Regions from separate parts of the Homo sapiens genome. Here region 1 is linked to region 2. Evidence: promoter capture Hi-C in human tissues and cell types (Jung and others, 2019). All regions are on one chromosome and are shown on one strand. Each heading gives the region's core, a stretch centred on a gene start or on the middle of the fragment in contact. The rest is flanking DNA. Distances are from core to core; before and after follow the strand shown.

Region 1 (7,328 bases), core at 4,671-7,170, 52 kb after region 2:
CCATTCCTAGCCTGCTTACTTCGTTGGGTTTGGTGAATAGAGTTATGATGTAGCCTAAATCTAGATATCCTTTTTGCTTTTACATTTTCTGTGTATGGGTTACTTTTATACCACCTTTTGAATATCCACATTTAATGACCTATCCCTGCACATGTACTCGGTTATTCTTTTAGGCACTAAAATATCGTATTATTTTCCATCACTTAATAGCCAGCTAAGCCGGATTCAGCTGTAAAGAGCAGTTCTAAATCTCCAAAGGCTCACAGCAATTTGCAGAAGCAGGAATTTGGTCTAACAAATTGTTTTTCTTATGATAAGTAACCTAGTCATAGTTTGTCTCTTTTTAAAATGCCTCATGAAACAGCAGCCACTCTCTGAATACTGCTGTTGATGGCACCATAGCATCGAAGGAGGACAGCATGCTGTCAGCTTGATGGCTGCCAGTCCTTTTGAACAATTTCTTGTCCTCATTTTCCTTTCTTTGTACCTGTTTACTGATAAAATTTGGTTGCAAATTATGTAAATTTAATATGGTAGCCTACATTCCTCTTGTAAGGAACAATAAGCCAAACTTATACTAAACAATCCCATGACCCTTCTTAATACCCTTTTGTAATTACTTCTATAATTGGATTATCAGAAATTATTGTCACATGTGAAGTCTCTTCAATAGGGCATAAGGAGTTGTCAGGAAGGGGGTAGGATTTTTATATTTTTGTCCCGCATATATGACTTTGCCTAAACAACTTTATGATACCAAAATTAATATAGAAAGAGAGTTCATAAAACTTGATTCGGCACCATAATATCTGAGATATAAATGCTTCCCGTGTTCTTTAAAATGTGTGATTTCTAAACTGAACTTATTTTGCTTAACTAACAAGTTATTAAAAGACAAAAAAAAAAAAAGCAACCCAAAGCAGCATATCCTTCTTTCCTTTCCTTCTTGTTATCCCATCCTGGAATAATAATATTCATCAGCTAACGGAAAGTCAGCTACTTCAAATAGTACTAATGGAACTTGCTAAATATACTGATTAGGGCTTTTTACTTTTTAAAATTTAGAGTGAAGTACTTTATAAAGGATTCTCTCTTTTTTTGGGCAGCTTTTTTACTGTATGGAAGCATGCATATGTTTCTCTTAATAGACTTTCAGCCTTGACTAACACTTTCAATGTTTTATAACTCCCAGGCTGGCTAAAAGTAATAATACCGGTTGAAATGTGATCAACACAAACATTATTTATTTGGTAATTTAATGCTCTTGGGAAGCTATTTGGGGGTAGTTTTCATTCTGGAGGTTGTCAATGGTAGAGAAAAAGAAAATTAAAGCAAAACTATGTCATGTACAAAGGAGAACAATTTTTAATTTGAGAAAATTTGCTCATGTAATCTTTTTTTTAATAGATCATTCTCTGTCAGAATATTTCTGGTCACTTTTGTCCCCAGCATACAAATACAAGAGTTGATTTCTAACTGTTCACGGTCAAGTCTGTGCCTGCAGCATCAATATTTAGCAGGCCACTTCCTCTAATTATATCTGTGATGGAAGGTGAAACATTAAAGAACCCTATTAGTGAGGCACGTCATGTCACATTACAAATTAGCAGAGGTCCTCAAATGTGGATTGGAATCACCTGCGGAGCTTTAAAAATGCTCATACCTGGCCAGGCATGGTGGCTCACACCTGTAATCCCAGCACTTTGGGAGGCCAGGGCAGGCGGATCACGAGATCAAGAGATCGAGATCATCTTGGCCAACATGGTGAAAACCCTGTGTCTACTAAAAATACAAAATTACAAAACCCTGTCTCTCCTAAAAATACTAAAAAATACAAAAATTAGCTGGGCATGGTGGCACACACCTGTAATCCCAGCTACTTGGGAGGCTGAGGCAGGAGAATCTCTTGAACCCAGAAGGTGGAGGTTGCAGTGAGCTGAGATTGCGCCACTACACTCCAACCTAGTGACAGAGTGAGACTCCGAATAAAAAAAAAAAAATGCTCATACCCACGTCCTAACTTCAGAGATTCCTAAATTGTTTTAGAATGGGGCCCAGGCATCAGCATTTCTCAAAGTTCCCCACATAATTCTAGCACAGCCAAGGTTGAGATCTATTTATATCTAGATTCATTCAATTACCTACAGTCTTCAAAATAAATCTTGAAAGTTTTAACAAGAGTAATTTCTCTAGGAAGTCTTTTTTGGAATGGATTCATTTTAAATTGCAGGAAGATTTAGTGAGAATATCAACAGAAAATCTTGGTCTTGGCCAGTTTTATGAATAAATAAAATAAGATAAAGACTGCATGAGACTATATTAAACTATATTATGCTAGTGTATGCTTTTCTCTGAAAAAATCATACTGAGTTTAAAAATTATGCATATGAAATTATTATGGACTCATAGGGGGCATAAGCAACTTTTATTAACTAATAGCAAGTGTTTATTTCTTTGAAACATAGAGGTTAAAAAGCCATCTTTTAATTGAATGCTTAAAAAATTCACTACTTTTGGTGACAGATGTTATTTGCACAAGAATGACAAAAATATTACCTTCTTTCACTACTCCTAGCACTATCCATCTAAATCCCAGACTTAATGCAATGAGTTGGAGATACATTACCTCCTGACAATTTCACAGTTATCTTTATCCATTATCACTGGCATATAAACCACATCTATTTTCTGATTTAGCAGTAGGAAAATCTGGGGAAATTAATTTAAAATATAATGTTTCTTTTCTTTTCTTTTCTTTTTGACGGAGTCTCACTCTGTCGCCCAGGCTGCAGTGCAGTGGCACGACCTCAGCTCACTATAAGCTCCGCCTCCCAGGTTCACGCCATTCTCCTGCCTCAGCCTCCTGGATAGCTGATACTACAGGCACCCACCACCACACCCAGCTAATTTTTTATTTTTTTGTATTTTTAGTGGAGATGGGGTTTCACAATGTTAGCCAGGATGGTCTCGATTTCCTGACCTCGTGACCCGCCTGCCTCAGCTTCCCAAAGTGCTGGGATTATAGGCGTGAGCCACTGCACCTGGCCTATAATGTTTATTTTCTAGAAGCAAAATATTTCTCTCTCTGAGCTCTATAACATATAGTAAAGTTCTTTTAATCAATTTGCCTCTTTTGACCTGGGGTGCTTTTTTTCCTATTTGATACCTTTATCACTGGTGATTTTAGAATAGACTCATTCTAGTTGGCTTTGAGATAGATACCAATACCTAAATGATACACTCACTACATAGCAACACTCATGTTTTGGTGACTTTTTGAGTTTATGCTGTTATACAATACCACAAATTGTATAATCATAAGACTTTCACCTCTGTGGCCTATCAACTCCAAATTGCAGCTAGGCAGATATGAAACTGCTTGACAGTGCAGTAGTGTCCTTGTTAGACTCATGGATGAGGAAAAGGCCTGCGTATTTTTCCAACCTATTCTCTGCAGGACAAGGCTAACTTATTTTCGGGCAAACACCTTTCCCTGGGTCTCCCTAGGAGAATTATGCCATTCATGCTAGGACATTCTGTAGTATTTGGAAGATAACCGTTGTCCCGAATGTTTGGCTCTAGTTTTGTTTAGAAGTAGTAATTGGTTTCAGATGAAGCTTTGCATAAGTTCAATTTCTAGTGTTCTATGAATATGTGAATAACGTTAAATTTTCTTCAAGGTGGTGATAGATGAATCCAAGTAAGCTTTCTGGGTAGCATTTAATTTGCTATCATGTGAGATAAAGGGTAAAAATCAAGCTAATTGATCAATTATATTTATTCAGGGATCTAGAAAAAACAATTTGTTTTTCTTAATCCAGAGCAAAGAATTGTAATCACTGCTGTATACAGGTTAAGCTTCTTACTGAAGAGGTCTTTCTGGGTGAGCCCCAGTGAAGGGTGTTTTACCTGTCTCTTGGGGTAAGAAGTCAGCCTTACCCCAAGAGATAGCCAGGGGAATCCACAGATTAATTCCCTTATGCATGAATCTGACAATGAGGCTATCAACATTATAAGCAGTTTTCTATCTAGCTACATTTTGGACTTTGTAGTCGAGTGAGGTGAAAGTCCTGTGATTGTACAGTTAGCACATTTTATATGACAGTATAATCTTAAAAAATAACATAGAAACAGAAACATTAGAAACGTAAGTCACAGTTTGTGAGTATGTCATTTTTTAGGGAAAAATAAAATATAGTAACGATTTATGAGGCCCCAAAGTTTTATATAAAAATGAAAAAGCTGTTTGGCAGTTAGGACTGACTGTAGCCTTCTGTCAAATCAGTCTTGACAACTGTTAAAAGACATTATCATCACAAATAGGGCTGCATTTCACTCTGTCTGTCAAATACAATCAATATATATGACTTTAAGAAAGTGTGACCATTTTCCCAGAGTGACACCAACAAGATGGTGGAATAGGAATTTTTGTTTAACTTTACTCACCTCACAGAAATCCAACTAGCAACTATCCACAGGCAAGAATACCAACCCAAATATTCAAGAACTTGGGAGTGAGTGCCACACCAGAGAAACTAGCCAACAGTGTCATACTGTAGGAAACACCGCCCACAAGTCTTCTAGGCTTGAATTCCTAGCGAGCTTCCCCACATTTGCCAGGTGCTTCTAAGCCAATGATTATGGAGGGAGCATCTGGCCCTGCCTGACCCTAGCAGTGGAGAGGTAATCCAACTAAGTTCTGGCGCTCACATGAAATCTTCCCCAGATTGGGAGAGAAGCAACTGCATGTCAGTGATTACTCATGGACACAATATCTGGTCCTGCCCAAGCCTAGCAGTGAAGAGATGATCCAACTCAGCCCTGATGCTCTCATTATGTCTTCCCCAAACCAGGAGGCAGTTGCAGGTCAGTGATTACCCATGGAAAGAGCATCTGGCCACCACCAAACCTTGGCGTTCTACTCTACCCTAGACCAGTAGGTAAGCCCAAGTCCACACATGTCTATAGGGCATATCCTCTGGCCTTGTCCACCTTGTGTGGCTGAGTAACAACCACAAAAATCTCACCCAGCATGGGAGCCTGTCATACAGCCGTGCCCAACTACAGGTTCCAAACAACAGAGCCAGGGAAGACAACTTGCAACTCTACCTAATCAGTCATGGCTGCAGAGTCCAATCAGCAGCCTCACCTGATGGCAAAGTTCAGCTAGTGGTTTCACTGATCACAGAGCACAGCCAGAAATACTATTTGATCTCAGAGCACAGGAAGCAGCTCAGCCCAATTATAGAACCTGACACCAAGCAAAGGCTGCCAGCCACCCCTCCAGAATCTCAGGCTAGACTAAATGGTAAAGATCTATAACCACCAAAAAACACCTGCAAAGGCTGGAAAATTTGGCTTTCTCCTCAAATGCACAGGCATAAGGACACAAAGATAATGAAAAATCAGGCAACATGACACCACCAAAAGAAACCAATAAAGCTTGTGTAATAGACCCAGAATAAATGGAGATCTATGAAATGACTGACAAAGAATTTAGAATAATCCTCTAAAAGAAGTTCAGGGAACTACAAGAAAATACAGATAGAGAATTAAGTGAAGTTTAGAAAACAGTTTATAAACAAAATGAAAAGTTTGACAGAGAAATGGAAGAAACAAATAAAAAAATCAAATGAAAGTCATAGTGATAAAGGATATAATAACTGAACCCTAAAAGTCAATAGAAAGCTTCAAAGAAGACTGGATATGGTGGCACGTGCCTGAAATCCCAGTACTTTGGGGGGCTGAGGCGGCTAATCATTTGAGTCCAGGAGTTCAAGACCAGACTAAGCAATATGGAGAAAACCTGCCTCTACCAAAAAAAAAAAAGAAAAATTGCAAAATTCAGTCAGGAATGATGATGTGTGCCTGTAGTCCCAGATATTCAGAGGCTGAGGTTGGAGGATTGCTTGAGCCCTGGAGGTTGAGGCTGCAGTGAGCTATGATTGCACCTTTGCACTCACTGGGTGACAGAGTGAGACCCTGTCTCAAAAAAAATGACTAAATAATAAATAAATAAATAAATATACTTTAAAGCAGATTTAAGCAGCAGAAAGAATCAGTGAGTTCAAATATAGGACATTTGAAATTATCGAATCAAAGCAGTAAAAATCAACAATATAAAAGAGTGAAGAAGGCCTATGAAAATTATAGAACACCAGTAAGTGGACTAACCTTTGCATAATACAAATTCCTGAAGGATGAGAGAGTGCAAAAGGCTTAGACAGCATATTTAAGAAAATAATGGCTGAAAAATTCCCAAATCTGGAGACAGATAATCTCATGGAAGCTCAGAGGTTGCCAATCAAATTGAACCCAAAGAGGAGTTTACTATACACATAATAATCAAATTATTAAAAATTAAGATAAAGAATACAGAAAGTAGCTACAGAAAATAAGCATATCACATTCAAGGGAGCCCCAGTACATCTTTCAGCTTATTTCTCAACAGAAATCCCACAGGCCATGAGAGAGTGGGATGGTATACTCAGAATACTGGGGAAAAGAAAGACTATCAACCAAAAATACTATACCTGGTAAAGCTGTTCTTCATAAATGAGGGACAAAAAAAAAACTTTCGAGCAAATAAAAACAGACAAACAAAAGCTAAGGGAGTTTATCACCACTAGGCCTGCTTTACAGGAATTACTAAATGGTTTCTTTAAGCTGAAAGAAAAGGCTTTTAATAACAAAAGATATGTGAATGTAAAAAACTCTTTGGTATAAGTAATGCCTGGTCATACTCTGAATTCTCTAATACTGTAACGGTGGTATATAAAACAATTGTATTCCTACTAGGAGGGTTAACACACAAAAAAATTGAAAACAACTATAGCTAGAATAAATTGTTGAGATAGAAATTACAAAAACAAATGTAAATTTGGACTTCAATATCATAAAAGTTGTTGGGAGGGTGAAAGTGTAGTTTTTATATGCATGTAAAGGCAAGTTGTTATCAGCTTAAAGTAGCCTTTCATAAGGATGAGATATTTTATGTAAGCCTCATGACCACCACAAAAGTAGAAACCTATAGCAGTTTCACAAAATGTAAGAAGAAAGAATTCAAAGCATATCACCACAGAAAACCATCAAACCACAAAGGAAGACAGCAGGAAAGGAAGAAAAAAAGAAGGGACCTAAAAAACAATCAGGAAACAAATTACAAAAAGACAGTAGCAGGTTCTTACCTATCAATAATTACCTTGAATATATGTGGTGTAAATTCTTCAATGAAATGATATAGAGTGGCTGAATGGATTAAAAAAGAAATAAGATCTAACCCCATCCTACCTACAAGAGCCTCACCTTATCAGTAATGATACATGAAC
Region 2 (7,054 bases), core at 1,468-3,967:
TCACACATGTTAAAAAATAGCCAGGATTAGATTAATATAGGGTATATTACCATCTGAAACATAATAGTGATGTGCAATTAATACAGTGTGTATAATACTAAAGATTCAACTTCTGTCAACCCGGTATCTAAACAGTTCTGAGGAGGATGAGGTGGAAAGTCTATCTCTGGAAAACCTGATTGAATGGATGCTACCTCAGCCTTCATCTTGGGTTTAAAATTACACAAACTAGTATATCATTCATGACGTTCAGCCACTTACTAATGTGATCTTGGGCAAATCACCTTTAAACTCAATCTGACTTTCCTCACTTGCTAAATAGGAATAATAACGCCTACCTTGCAGGGTTTGGTTCTGCTTTAAAATAATAATCTGCATGAGAGACTCAATCCTTGAGCATGGTATACACTAAAAGGTTATTAATTTCCCCCTTCACTCTCATTTGTCATTGCAATTTTACTTGAATTATTAACCTAAAATTAGCTTATCTATTACTTATATCCCATTTTGAAATAAAACTGATTTTATTTTTGCCCCCAGTGGGTCAGTAGAAAGACTTAAATAGTATCTTGGACACATAGTAATTCTTTTTTCCTTTTTTGTTCTAAGAAAATCCTCATTTGTGACAGAACTGCCACATAGTCCTGAAGAATAAGGAAAGTCAGGCGATGAATGACTATTTTCCAGAAGACAGGTAAAGCATATTTGGTAGATTAATTCTCAATTCACCTTCTAAGCAGAAAAGGACAAAACCCTCATTTACCAAGATTCTAAAGAGATTTCCAGGCAAGTCCCTAGCCAGCCCCACATCAGTCTTTGCTTTGAAGCATCCATTCCCCAGAGCTTGGTTTTCTTGACTAGGTCCCAAACCTTTTATTGAGCCGCAAGGCGACCGGAGGAAACAATCGGCTTCTTGCACAGACATTCACGTGTCTGGTGGCACTCAAGAGAGGGCTGGCACAAAAGTGCTTATCAGAGAATCAATCTTTTTTGCCTATTATCTTCCTTTTCCTCGGAAGAAAGTGAGTTAGTGCAATTACCTCATCTAGAACAATTACCTCACCTTAAACTGTTTATTCTTCAGAGAAAGGCGTTTGGGAGCAGGTAGCACATTGGCGGGAGACATGGATTTTTGAAAAGTACTTGATGTTGAGCGTGGGTAGTGAGGAACTGCTGGGAAGGTTGCCTTTCAAACCAAGGCTCCCTTTTCTATGGGGGATTACCAGGCAAAAGGTGAGCTCTGCTGCCATTTTGAGGACTCGATCCTGGCAGCGATAATGAGGTAGTCCAATTGGGGAGCCTGGGACTCCCCACCAACTTCCTGGGTGTGCTCTGAAATTGAGTGACCTAGGACAAGCTCTCTAAAGTTACTCCTCCAGCAGAGGGAAGAGGCAACCGTGAGGTATTTTCGAAAGCAGTTAAATAAAAATTTGATAATCTATCTAAAACAAGCCACACTTAAAAAAAAAAAAAAAAAGAGTCTTCTTTCCTTCTTCTTATAAAAGTCCAGCGCGTTTCAAAGTCCTTTTAATTGTCAGGCCCAGAGAGACATTAGAATGAGACCACAATCATGCCCTACTCCTTCCTTTAAACTATATATTCATTTCTTAAAACTACATACTATTACTACAAATAGCTATAAATTAACCTAATAATACCACATCAAACAGTATAACCCACATCCTATGACTTAACTATATATAACTAATCACTAATCGACATTATTTCAATAAATCAGTATAAATTCCTAACAATGTTACATCAGTCCACTCCCCATCCCCCTTTTTTTTGCCTTTAAGAATCCACTTATAACTACTACTAATCAAAATATATATTCAAAACAACTTAAATCTATACTCCTGAGTTGCAATCCTCACACTTGGCCCAAATAAACTCTTACTTATATTAATTTCGCCTCACCTTCTTCCTTTTTAAGTCGACACTCCTTTCCCTGATACTTACCAGAAGGCAATTCCTTGGGCTCAGATTAAAACTGACAAAAATAGGAGCCATTCGAAATGAGGGAGCTTCTGAAAAGTTTGGGGATTCCGGAGTGTTCAGGACAACAGAATAGGGAATTCGAAAAAAAAAGAAAGCAAAAATAAAAATCGATTATACAAGCCTTAATGCACCCATGATTGTTATTCCCCACTTCTTTATTTATATGAATGAAGTTAGCATAGTTGCAGCAATGGAGTAACTCCATTATTATTTTTTCCCACTACGCATTTATTTTAAGTCTTTCTTTTTCTCAGGATGTTTTCCTGAGTGATGTCTGATCTAATGGGAAAAAGTGGAAGTAGGAGAGGCAGGACTTTAGAAGGGCTCAAAGTAGATGAACAAAACGGAGGTCTCCTGGAAGCAGGTGACTGAGTTAGGCAACCGAGATGCCCACATATCTGTGCGGCGTTCGCCCCAAGAGGCCAGCCGGCTCCGCTCAGCTCCCCGCGGCGTGGCCGCATCCCCGCCGCCCGACTCCCAGCCCGCTTCCTCTCTCCGCGAGCGGGGGGGGGAGCTGCAGGCGGGGCCCGAAGCGCCCCGGGGGCACGTGGAGCGGCCTCTGGCTCACCTGCGCCTCCCGGGCCCCAGCCCAGCGCCGCCGCGTCACCGCCCCTCCCGCGGCCCCGCCCCAGCCCGGCTCATTGGCTGCCGCTCGGAGGGGAGGGGAAGGGGCGGCTGCGGGGGTCTCATTAGCGATGCGGACTCTCGCCTCCGCTCCGTAGTTCGGGGCCCGGCAGCGGCGCGAGGGCTGGGAACTGCGCGGCGGGGACTGCGGGCGACTCCGGCATCCGCGCTGGCGGCAGCGGTCGCCGCGCCGTGGGAAGCTATGGGGACGCGCCCTTTCTCGGGGTGCCCATTCAGCGGCGGCTCGGAGCTCCCTGCCCCGCTGCTTTAGGAAGCGATCGTGGAGCAGAGTCACTCTCTGAAGACTCCCGAGACCCATTCGACTCGGGACCCTCATCGCCGACCCTTTCCCGGGCTCCCGGAGCGTGAAGAAGAGCCGCCCTCCGGAACGCGGCGAGGAGCATGGGGAGAGCGGCGGCCACCGCAGGCGGCGGCGGAGGGGCGCGCCGCTGGCTCCCGTGGCTGGGGCTGTGCTTCTGGGCGGCAGGGACCGCGGCTGCCCGAGGTAAGCGCTGGGCGGAGCGGGCAGCTGGGGGCGAGGGCGCAGGGGCGCCAGCCTGACGGAGCGGGACCTGCACCGATGGCGTTGGCTTCCCAACTTGCGCCCTGCACCTCGGCGCTCCAAGCCCAACCGGATGGGAGCCGAGTGGAGGACTCCGAGGGGACCACAGCCTTCCAACCCAAGTTTGCGATCTGCCGCAATCCTACAGGTGGCTGTGACCCGGGCCCCTACCGTTTTCCTGGACCCTCCTTGCCTGCTCCATTTTCCAAGCCCTCCCCAATTGCTGCAGACTGGAGTAGCCCGGTCTTCACTCCAATCTCGCTCTCCCCTCTCCTCTCCACTTCCTCTCAAGCCGAGCTTGGTCATGAGTTAGCGCCCATAGCGATGTCGGAGAGTTCCTGGGGAGAGGGGCCAGGTGATGGGAGTGTCTGTAGGGTGGGCTTGAACAGAGAGGGTGTCTTTTCCCTTAGGGGAGGAACACCCATGCTGAAGTCCCTTCGCTCTGCGCCTAGCTTGGCACCCCTCGGGCGTCCTTAGCCCGAGGTCCCAGCCAGCCCTGGAGCTCGGGAGAGCGGCGTGCACCATCCCAGTTTAACCGCGCCTGCAGTGCCCAGCCGGGATGAGCACTTGGCCCGAGGCTGCTCACCAGGCGCCTCCTCTCCCTTCCCGGCGCCTACTCTGGCTTGGAAGCGCGGGCCCCACCGAGCCGCAGGGAAACCTCTGCTTCTTTCCGACTTAGAAGCCTAGACCCCATTTTCTTGGATCCTCTGGACTCCAGCAGAGGGAAATTTCGCAACTGGTTTCAGCTCCACCTTGAGCGAGGACAGGCAGCATCAAGTTAAAGATAAATCCCAAGGAGTTGTTTTGAAGATGATCAGAGGCAGTTTCAGACACAGCTCAAGTACCGGAGCTTTACCTTTGAAAAAAATCGGAAGCTTTGCCTTCCCGCCCTTCTTTCCCTTTTTCCTTCTCTGTGTTCCATCCATCAGGCTTAGAATATGTGATACCGTTAAATGATTTGCCTTACACTTGCCAGGGGAGAGGTGGAGCTGAGCTGACCACTTCACCTGCTCTGTTCGGTCTCCTGAACATGCTCCGACCAGCCTGGAGAGTGAAAGGGTGGAAAGGGTTGAGGACGATCACAAAAGAACCAATGTTATCTCATTTTTATAAAAGCTTATGGCGTGTTAAAAGCAGTCCGGCTGCCTAGAAAGATTTTCTTTTTAAGAGGTTGATAGAGGCTCTCCATTGTATGATCCTATTCTTTGCCCATTTGCATTTCATTTCCTGAAAAGTTTTTTTTTTTTTTTTTTTTTTTTTTTAATGGAGCGGGCTTTGTAAGAAGCAGGGGAGGTTTAAAAATGAGCGTCGGTGATTGTACACCCTGGGTTATGATGAACCACAGTTCCTTCTCGTACTGGAAGAAGCACAAGCTTCAGCCATTTAATTTACTACGTACGGCAAATGTCTCATTGCAAAGTCAGCTCTCAGTTGTTTTTAATACACTCTTATGGGAAAAGTGGGTCTTTTCTAAATGTTAATCTAAATGTCTGAGTTTCCACTTACTATTCGTGTGGAATACCTCACAGTCACTAACTCCAGGTACTCACCCTTGGAATTGGGTTGGTGACGTTGTCTTGAAGCCAGCTCGAAACAAGAGGTGGGGACATGCCAGCAGCCTCTTGGATGGAGTTTTGCTGGCTGCGAAACTAAGGCTAGCACCTCTTGTCTGCAAGCTGTTCTTTAAAGGTCTCCTGGAAAACATGCTGTACATTCTGCAGGCTTATTTACAACAAATGTCTTGCACAGATCATAGTAATATGCAAGACACATGGAGTGGAGCCGTAAATCTGACTGATATTTCCCATGTCATATTTTACATTCTGGGGCATGAGGCCCATTCCCCTTAGCAACTGTCAGAGAGTCCTCAAGAAATGAGCACTAGTCAGGCTGTGAAACCGGTGAAGCCACATGCACCTGGCTTTGCACAGTTGGGTGTAATTGGAGTTTTCAGAATAGAGGGTGTGTTTCAGTGCTTATGAAGTTCTCCCTTCCCAGAAAGGTGTCCATTCATTAAAACCAAGATAAGATGCACTGGTGTGGCATGCTTGCCTGACCACTAGTCTCACCATACTCTCTAGGATTAGCCCTAGGTTGTTCTTACTTATCCAATTAATAGTTTTTGTTCTTTAGGACTTTTCTTGTTGATTTGAAACAAGATACTTTGCTTGCCCTAACCAACGGGGTATAGAATTATGCCATTTGCCTTGCTGTTATGAGAATATTTAACAATTCAGTAGCGTTTTCTTTACCATATTTATCATTTATCTGTTTCCAAAATGATTGCACCAACTTTTTTTTTTCTTTCCTTTCCCTCCATACTTATGTAGAAACCTCTGCAAATCAGAGGGAGATTTCAAATTGGTTTTGAATATACTCTAGGAGGAAGACCCTTGGGACAAGGAAATGTTGTAGAGCCCAGTAGTGGCCCAAGAAGCAATGTTCTGTTTCCCTCCTTTGTAAGTAAGACTTAGCTCTTCAGATGAACATCTCTGCCTGTCGGCATATTGTAAGGAAGGCACTCTGGTGCCATGATCACTGTATATTTTTACACTTTCCAACTTAAAAGGAGGTTGTTTAAAAGTTATTCATGACCTGCCAAGTGCTAACTGAATCCACATCATGTTGTCATACTGATTTGTTTTTGTTCTTCAAGAAAAAAAGGGGGACTGCTGTTCATCTGCTTGTTATTTTTGCCTTAGATACTGTACATAAGATACTGTAGTCATTAAAGGCAGAGAGGAAGATAATCTTAGACAAGCTGAGCTTTCATACAATTTCTTGCTTTAAAACATTTCCTGGACAATGAAATTTTGATTGCAATAACTAGAGTAATGCATTAATGGCAAGAGAAGTACACATTTATTACATAGGCATAATAATAGTCTTGTGATTTACACATACTTAAATCCGTCTATCTGTCTAGCTCATAAAGTTTAAAATCTATAGTCATTTCTACCTTAATGAATGTTGTGAGGCCACCCTCTTCCTTCCCACTTTACTTCTTCTGTTCCTTTTCCTCACAAATCTTTCTCTTCCTAGGACTATGAGAAAGAGTCTTTTTCCCCTATTTCCTGCCAGACTTATTTTTTCCTGATTCTTGGGTTGTGCTCTTATTTTGAGCAGCCCAGTGGCACCTTCTTAAGAGATCTTTTAAGCATCTCAGTTTTTAATAAGAGATTAATTGTTCTGACCTAGCCCTATAATGATAGCACTTGTCACCCTTTGCATACTTTTTTTGCTCTCCAGATGACCTATCGGTGGGTCTGTGGTTCTTTAAGTAGTACCTCACAGGGGAGGGAAACATTTGGAGCTGTGGATCCTTTCTGAGCTCTCTCAGGACTGGATGACTGAATCCGTCAGGTAGTTCTACACTGCGCTGTCTTATTGATTAGGAAATCACTTTTCTGTTTATTGTCTCAATGCTTCATAAATTTGTTTCTATTGTCCTCTTCCTACCAAATGCAGTACCCAACTTAAAGCACTGCCAGTGTTTATCAGGGAATTGGTTTATTGGGAGATACTGCATGTTTGATATCCTTCCCTTCTGCTTTTTTTTTTTTAATATCTAGGCTAGAGACTCAGACATGTATTAAAATCTAATCCCAAAGACAAGTGATTTATTCCATAGCATCCTCTTAAGGAAGGGGGTGGTGGTGGTGTGTGATGCCCTCATAATGGGAAGGCACATGTGTTCACAGGGAGCCCAGATGTGCCCTCCTTCTTGATTACACCTTTGCCATTAATGCTGATTGTCCCTTCGTCCAGGCTGTTACTTGGCCAGCAACATCATTGTCTTCTCTTCCTTCCTCCTCCTTCTGATACCTTCATGAACTAACTGCTCAACAGAATAGATCAATGGAAACG

The links. The method cuts DNA at HindIII sites, captures the fragments that hold promoters and counts their contacts. A contact is called where the count stands out against the background at its distance.
Region 1: a contact is called between a fragment that was not itself captured here and the fragment with the promoter of UNC5D in region 2, in 2 of the 25 tissues and cell types used here (H1 embryonic stem cells and thymus).

What each region holds. Positions count from the first base shown.
Region 1 is chr8:35,281,815-35,289,142 of GRCh38, forward strand. The region is part of intron 1 of UNC5D (unc-5 netrin receptor D); the gene reads left to right. Among named protein-coding and RNA genes, the nearest start is that of UNC5D, 50 kb to the left of the region's middle. RefSeq lists enhancers at 4,348-4,848, 4,849-5,349. The HindIII fragment of the contact is 4,518 bases long and covers 3,662-7,328 here.
Region 2 is chr8:35,232,758-35,239,811 of GRCh38, forward strand. UNC5D (unc-5 netrin receptor D) reads left to right here and starts at 2,718. Exons shown (of 17, transcript NM_080872.4): 1 at 2,718-3,130. The coding sequence starts at 3,028. The HindIII fragment of the contact is 15,361 bases long and covers 1-6,202 here.